Linked DNA regions of Homo sapiens: region 2 is linked to region 1. The links are contacts of gene promoters, found by promoter capture Hi-C in blood cells and fetal thymus (Javierre and others, 2016). All regions are on one chromosome and are shown on one strand. The core of a region is centred on a gene start or on the middle of the fragment in contact, and the rest is flanking DNA. Distances in the headings are between cores, read along the strand shown.

Evidence for each region. Contacts are between HindIII fragments. The CHiCAGO score rates a contact against its expected background, and 5 or more counts as called.
Region 2: the fragment with the promoter of CDK7 here is called in contact with a fragment that was not itself captured in region 1 in 2 of 17 cell types (neutrophils and erythroblasts); the score reaches 7.0 in neutrophils.

What each region holds. Positions count from the first base shown.
Region 1 is chr5:69,492,568-69,496,430 of GRCh38, reverse strand. It overlaps OCLN (occludin), which reads right to left and starts at 3,641. Exons shown (of 9, transcript NM_001205254.2): 1 at 3,531-3,641. The HindIII fragment of the contact is 3,979 bases long and covers 1-3,290 here.
Region 2 is chr5:69,233,188-69,236,950 of GRCh38, reverse strand. It overlaps CDK7 (cyclin dependent kinase 7), which reads right to left and starts at 2,065. Exons shown (of 12, transcript NM_001799.4): 1 at 1,910-2,065; 2 at 1,498-1,557. The coding sequence starts at 1,975. RefSeq lists enhancers at 1-103, 1,815-2,343. The HindIII fragment of the contact is 18,686 bases long and covers 1-2,636 here.

The DNA of each region.
Region 1 (3,863 bases), core at 52-2,551:
ACTGTCAATTTGCCTTTAAAAAGTTTAAGTTGTGGCCGGGCGCGGTGGCTCACGCCTGTAATCCCAGCACTTTGGGGGGCCGAGACGGGAGGATCACGAGGTCAGGAGATCGAGACCATCCCCGCTAACACAGTGAAACCCCGCCTCTATTAAAAATACAAAAAATTAGCTGGGCATGGTGGCAGGCGCCTGTAGTCCCAACTACTCGGGAGGCCGAGGCAGGAGAATGGTGTGAACCCGGGAGGCGGAGCTTGCAGTAAGCCAAGATCGTGCCACTGCACTCCAGCCTGGGAGACAGCGAGACTCTGTCTCAAAAAAAAAAAAAAAAGTTTAAGTTGTGCCTTATATTAAATGATTTAGACTACAGGCACATCATTAGTAAATTGTCTAAAAATTTGAAGTTAGGCAGATTTTGTAATAGACTCTGTGTCAGAAATTGTATTTTTAATAAATCTTCCAGGTGATTTTTAAACACATCACATATTTTGAGAATTGCTGTCTACAATAAAGGTGTCAATCCAAAAAGGACATTGATCTTGCAATTTCCTGTCTAGAAAGCCCAGATCTTTTACACAACAGACACCTGCTGTTCAGGTCTCAGCTCAGACGTCACCTTCTGGGAGATGCCCTCCCTGTCCCTCACTCCATCACACAAAACTTGTTTTTTTTTTCAGAGCAAACTCCCCTCTGCCCTCATACCTAAAATATAGGTATCATCTCCACCGCATCTGGAATGCCCATATCCCAGACATCAAATGTCTATTTTGACCATCATTTATATCCCTGGTCGCTGGAACTAGCCCTGGCACAAAGTGATTGTCAATGAGTACTCAATTAATAAAACCAACAGTCAATTATTAGAGTTGGGATTTCAATCCAGCAGTGAATGCCTTGAAGTTCTTCACACAACACTCAATAAACGTTATTTTTTCCAACTTCAGTTTGTCAAATGTAATTAAGTGCGTAGAGTCTAAGAGAAAGGGAGAAAAAGAAGACAGAACAGTCTGAGAATCACCTGTGAGCCTGTTAGAAAGGCAGAATCCCAGGCCCCACTCCTGACCTCCCAATCAGAATCTGTGTTTTAATAGGATCCCTAAGTGATTCATACCACAGCCAAGACTGGAATCACTGGGTTACGGAACAGCGGCAAGCCTAGGGGTTAAAACAAAAAGCCTAACATAAATCTGCATGGTCTGTTTACTCTCTTATTTCCATAAATAGTAATTTGATGAAAAAGATCCATTAATATTCCAATCAAATAAGCCTTAAAATGCAACTGAAGAAAACTTCCTTCTGGGAGGTTCCTAGGAAGATGAAAGATATTACATCAGATCATTTATGTGGTTAAAAGTAATATACTATTTTGAAAAGGTAGTAATTCCAACACTACCTTTAGAAGAAAACAAGAATTTTACCTTGATATCAAGCAAAATGCGGGAAATCTTGTATCAGGCTACAGTTACTAGTCAATGGTAGAAAAGTCCAGAAAAATTCCCCAAATCTGGTTCTGGAATATCAAGGACCGCTGCTTCTGATACTCCTTCCCATATTAGCTGAAGCAGTTTGCAAGCAAGCCCACCTGCAACGTTTCCCCCACGGCATTTGCCCACTTTTAAAATGGAGTTCTACTAAGGCCTGCCTTTTAGAGTTGTTGGGATAATTAAATGAGAAAATACAGAATGCTTTTACCACAGTGCCTCACGTGCAGGAGGCACTGCTGCCCACTATTTCCCGAAATGGCCTGGAAACTGCCAAAAGGTGGAGAATCATGTCTTACCGATCTCCCTATCCTCTGCTCCGTCACCTAACAAAGGAGGCCCCTAATAACTAAATAAATTGCAAAACGACCAAAAAAAAAGTGTTGCTTTGTTTGAGGAAATATCTCTGCCTCCCACACACACTTAAGATGTCTATTTTAAAGCACCACTAAGAAAATATTCATAAAGGCTGGGTGTGGTGGCTTACGCCTGTAATCCCAGCACTTTGGGAGGCCAAGGCGGGCGAATCACCTGAGGTCAGGAGTTCGAGACCAGCCTGACCAAATGGCAAAACCCTGTCTCTACTAAAAATACAAAAATTAGCTGTGCATACTAGTGGGTGCCTGTAATCCCAGCTATTCGGGAGGCTGAGCAGGAGAATCGCTTGAACCCGGGAGGCAGAGGTTGCAGTGAGCCCAGATGATGCCACTGCACTGGGGGACAGAGCCAGACTCCGTCTCGGAAAAACACACACACACACACACACAAGCACCTCATATGTACAGTGCAAAAGAACTACTGTTACTATTGTTACACTTGGGAACGCCTAGTTTTCTATCACACCAAGAATCACCAAAAAACACCATAAGTGCCTTCATGGGAAACGTTTCTCTTTTCCAGGTATCCCAATAATACACCTGTTGCCTAAGGGCCACACACTGACTGGCCTGGAAAGCCGCCGCCTCCTCCTCGAGCAGGGTAATTCCCCAAGCGGGCAGTGTGGCCAGCGAGCCCCGGGTCCGGCCTAAGGATGCCGCGGCTTTTCCCTCGGGCCCGGTGGCTTCCCGAGGAGCGCGAGGGGCTCGGCGCCGCTCCCAACCCCTAGGCGCAGAGGCCATCTTGGCCCTCGACCCCTGCTCCCCGCACGCTTCCTCCGACGCAGGCAACATGGCTGGCGCGCGGGGCCGGCCCAGTCCCGGAGGTCCCCAAACTCCGTGGCCCGGCTGGGCGCGGGTCCCGGCTTCCGTGCGCACCGAGGCGCTCCCAGGCAGCGCGCGCCCACGTTCGCCGGGCAGGCACCGCCCGGAGGCAGTTCCGCCCCCCTGGGGGCAGCCCTTTTGGTCACGGATGAGAATCCGAAGCGTGAGCAGCTTCCCTCGAAGTCCAGCCTCACTCGAAATTAACTCCCCGCCCCCCAGCTTAAATCGACGCGGGTTCACACAACTCGCAACAAGTGGATTCGAAGTAGCCAGTGTGGCCCACACCGTGACTCCTGGAATATTTCACAGATTGAATCCAGCCCCCGTCTCCCCGGGATATCCAAAGGGGTGGGGTGGGAGCGGAAGGAATGAAATTCCCCCCGGGATCTAAGCCGCCCGGGCCGCCGAACAGCCGCCTCGCTGCAGCCTCAGGCTTAGGACCCCCAAGGAGCTGGGCGCAGGATCCCTCTCCATGAAGGCCGCCCCCCCAAACTGCAGCCCCAGAGCGGATGCAGGATCGTCGCTGTTCAGGAATGTCGTGCCCCATAAAAGTGAAAAGTTGCCCGCGCCGCTGAGGCACTGCTAGCTTTCAGCGTTTCCGCGGAATAAAGCTTGATCGGCGGCTCCAAGCCACCCCTCGCCCCAGGAGGCAGCCTCCCAAGTTGGCCGGTGCTGCTCTCTCCGCAGACCCGCGCCTCTCTGGTTCCCACGAGTCCCAGCTCGGGGACGAAACTGCCACCGAAACCAGCGCGGAGCGTCCTCCCCCCGGCACCTCCCCTAACATAGTCGCCGCGGTCCCCCCACGGGGACCCTCGGGCTCCCGTGCGCCCCTGACGCCGCGCCCAACACTCACCCGCTCGCCGCAACTGGGCCCGACCCTCCGGGGGCCAACGGTGCCAGGGAGCGCGCTCACCTGGCGGGCGCACCTGACGCCGCACCGACCGCCAGCGCTCAGCCGGGGACTGGGCTGGGGACGTCTCCTCCCCCTTCTCCCTCTCCTTTCCCTCCTCCCTACAACCGGCCCTGCCCCCGGGCATGCGCACCAACGTGGAAGGGGGTGCGGGAAGCCTGCGGGCCAGCGCCGCGAGTCCCACCTGCTGCGTCCTAGACCGGCTCCTCGGCGCTCTGGACCTGGCTCTCGGTTCCTGCCGCCTCCGCCAGAGGAAGCAGGGAGGGAGAGGTGGAC
Region 2 (3,763 bases), core at 816-3,315, 260 kb after region 1:
GCCAGGCACAGTGGCTCACACCTGTAATCCCAGCATTTTGGGAGGCCGAAGTGGGTGGATCAACTGAGGTCAGGAGTTCGAGACCAGCCTGGCCGACATGGCGAAACCCTGTCTCTACTAAAAATACAAATATTAGCTGGGCGTGGTGGCAGGTTCCTGTAGTCCCAGCTACTGGAGAGGCTGAGACAGGAGAAGTGCTTGAACCCGGGAGGCAGAGGTTCCAGTGAGCCGAAATCGCACAATTGCACTCCAGCCTGGGCAACAAGCAAAATTCTGTCTCAAAAAAAATAAAAAATAAAATAAAATAAAAAATAAAAAAATTATGGCAGGAATAATTGAGAAGAAGTAGTCAGTCAGGTTTTAAATGAATGCAAGACAGTACTTGGAGGCTGGAAGATGACCAAAAAAAGGGGGAATTAATGTTAAATATGGATAACTTCCAAGGAGTTAGGGTTTTTGAAGCAGGAGAAGCAGATTCAAAGTAGCAACGGTAACAAAAGCAACATCAGGACACCTGGATTTAAATCCCAGCTTCAGCAATCACTAGCTGTGTGATCTTGACAAGTCACCTAGTCACTCAGTCTCAGGTACCTCAAGTATAAAATAGGGTTACTTTTAACCACTTTATAGATTGTTTTGAAGGTTAAAAGAAACAATGTAGGTGAACGTGAGTTATGTAATTATGACCCAAATCTTTTTTTTTTTTTTTTTAAGATGGAGTCTCCCTCTGTCACCAGGCTGGAGCACAGTGGCACCATCTCGGCTCATTACAACCTCCACCTCCCAGGTTCAAGTGATTCTCCTGCCTCAGCCTCCCGAGTAGCTGGGATTACAGACAGGTGCCACCACACCCAGCTAATATTTGTATTTTTAGTAGAGACAGGGTTTCACCATGTTGGCCAGGATGGTCTGGATCTCTTGACCCCAAGTGATCCGCCCACCTCGGCCTCCCAAAGTGCTGGGATTACAGGCGTGAGCCACCGCGGCTGGCCCGACCCAAGTCTTTTGAATGAATATAAGAAGCTACTGAATCCGACCCAGGTCTTTTGAATGAATATAAGAAGCTACTGAACTCATTTTAGACCTCACATCAATGTTGTTCATGCTAGTGAAAGTCTTTCATGGTAAATCCGTACACAGAAAATACAGATACGACACACTGAGTGGATGCAGGTGAGGTATAAACAGTGACCTAGAAAGATCATGGTATCCAATAGTTCTGAGGACCGAAAAGATGGGCAGTACTTGCCCACAACATATGAATTTATGCAGTAAAAATAACATACAGCTTCTTCTTCATTTCAATAGAAATTAAAACGGGTTCAACCCTAGAGTTCCGTTTGGGAACACAAAGCACTAATTAATTATTTTGTCTCTGAAAATGACATGAGTAACTCATTATCAGAGTATGGTCAAGACTAATAAAATGGCTATCAGTCAATTAATAATACAGACATCTTCAAGGAGACTTAAAAACAACATAAAAAGGTAACTCACTTTCTTAATGGCGACAATTTGGTTGGTGTTCTTATCTCTGGCCTTGTAAACGGTGGCAAACTAGAAAGAAAAATAGAAATAACATAAGTTTATGGGAGTTTTTGTGTTTGCCTTTTTGCATTTTTACATTTCGCGAAGCAAAGAGCCCAGAGTTCCTGAGCAGACTCGCGGCGGCTGGAAACGTGGCGGGTCAGTCTCCGTCCAGCTCCAGGCTACTCTTCAGCAAGGAGAGGCCCCTCAGGGATTCACCCCCAGGATGTAAAGAATGGGCAGCAAGTGCGTCTGGACGGTTTCCCCCAACGAGAACGAGCAGCCAAGCCAGACCTCTGGCCTCCACGGGAAAACCCGCAAAGGTGGAGGCGGCGCGGGGCTGTCCGCTTGGGGCCCTCCCCGTCCTTCCAGAGAGCCTCACCTGTCCCTCCCCAAGGAAGTCCAGCTTCTCATAACGCTTTGCCCGAGACTTCACGTCCAGAGCCATCCGGCGCCGTAAAGCCCGACTCCAGCCGAAAAGGGCGAGCTCCCAGGACAACACGAATTTAAAGCTACCTTAAAGCCTCCAACACCCACTTCCGTCCACCGGGCTCCGTCGCTTTAGTATCCCCGCCTCACTTCCGTGGTGGGCGGAGGAAGCTGCGCTAGGCCCAGGCGGTTGGCGTTCCCCACCCGTCACGTGACGCCTGTCGGTGCCTGAAGTGGGGCATCTTCAATGGCTGCTGTGTCACTCTGTTGCCGTTTTAACTTGGGTGTTTTCTACATTACCAGGAACTGGTCAGCGTTCTAATTTGGTGTTCCATGTTCGGGGTTTGGTAGGTGTCTGTGAATGTAGAAAGTTTGGCCTTGTACCTGTTCTCGCTTTTTGGTTCTTGCTCGAGCGCGTCCTGTCGCCGTGGTTGCTATGGACGCCAAACCCTGCTATCTCAGATTACTGAGACGAGTGCCAAGTTCTTACGGGCTGGTCAAGAGTATTCTTAGTCCAGTCCCTTTATGAAGAAGCAGGCCCAGGAAAACAAAATCCAACTCAACTGAAACGTGCTGTGGGAATCAGCTTCTAGTCCTCAGTTTTCTACTCGGTAAAATGGAAAAAATAATGAACTACATCACAGGAGATTGTGGGTATTAAATGAAACATGCAGAAAGCTTAGACATTAACTCAATTAATTGAGACAGTGCTCAATTAACTTAGCAGTAATGAGTACCCAACCCCTTGATTATCATAAATTGTCATAACAAACACACTAATTCATTTATTCAAAAACATATTGAGTGCTTTTCCTTTTTCATTTTTCTCTCTCTTAGGATGCTGATATTGAGTGTTATCTATGTGCCAAGCACCATTGTAGAATCTGAGATAGCAGGGAGCAAAGATCCCTGCCTTCCAATGGGAGGAGATAAAAAAACAAGTCAAATATGTGTTATGATACATAGGTGATAAGTGCTATAGAGATAATAAAGCAGATAAAGGATAACAAATCAGGGCAGGGGCAGGGATGGAGGTTTTAAATAGGGTGGTACAAGAAAGTCATCACTGAAAACCCACTGGAGGGATTGGAGCAGACAAGTGATATGACCTGACTCACTTTTAAAAGGTTCACTCTTGCTGTTGGGAGACTATATTATAGATTTTGAGGGACAAGAAAAAGAAAGAAGGCCTATTAGAGAACTATTGCAGTAATCCAGATGGCTCTACTAGTGGATAATTAAAAGTTTCTGAGCCAGAGCAGCTGTCAACATGGAAATGTGCCCCCCTCCCCCTGCCTTTGTTTGTTTGTTTGTTTTTGAGACAGTCTCACTCTGTTGCTCAGGCTGGAGTACGCTGGCCCGATCTGAGCTCACTGCAACCTCTGCCTCCTGGGTTCAAGCGATTCTCCTGCCTCAGCTTCCCGATTAGCTGGGATTACTGGCCTGCTCCACCACACCCAGCTAATTTTTGTATTTTTAGTAGAGACGGGGTTTCACCTTGTTGGCCAGGCTGGTCTCAATCTCCTGACCTCAGGTGATCCACCCTCCTCGGCCTCCCAAAGTGCTGGTATTTGTAAGTGTAAGCCACTGCGCCCAGCCTATATTTGTTATTTCTAAGAGTTGAAAATCCTAAGTTTCAGAGATATGTTGAAGAAAGTAGCAAAATACCAAGGCCAATAATTTAGTTATTTTTTTTAACTCTGGAATCAGACTGCTTGCATTTGAATAGTGGCCCTATCAGTATTCAGCCACTAGATACAACTAGGGCAAATTACTTACTTTGTTTCCAGTTTCTTCATCCCTAATA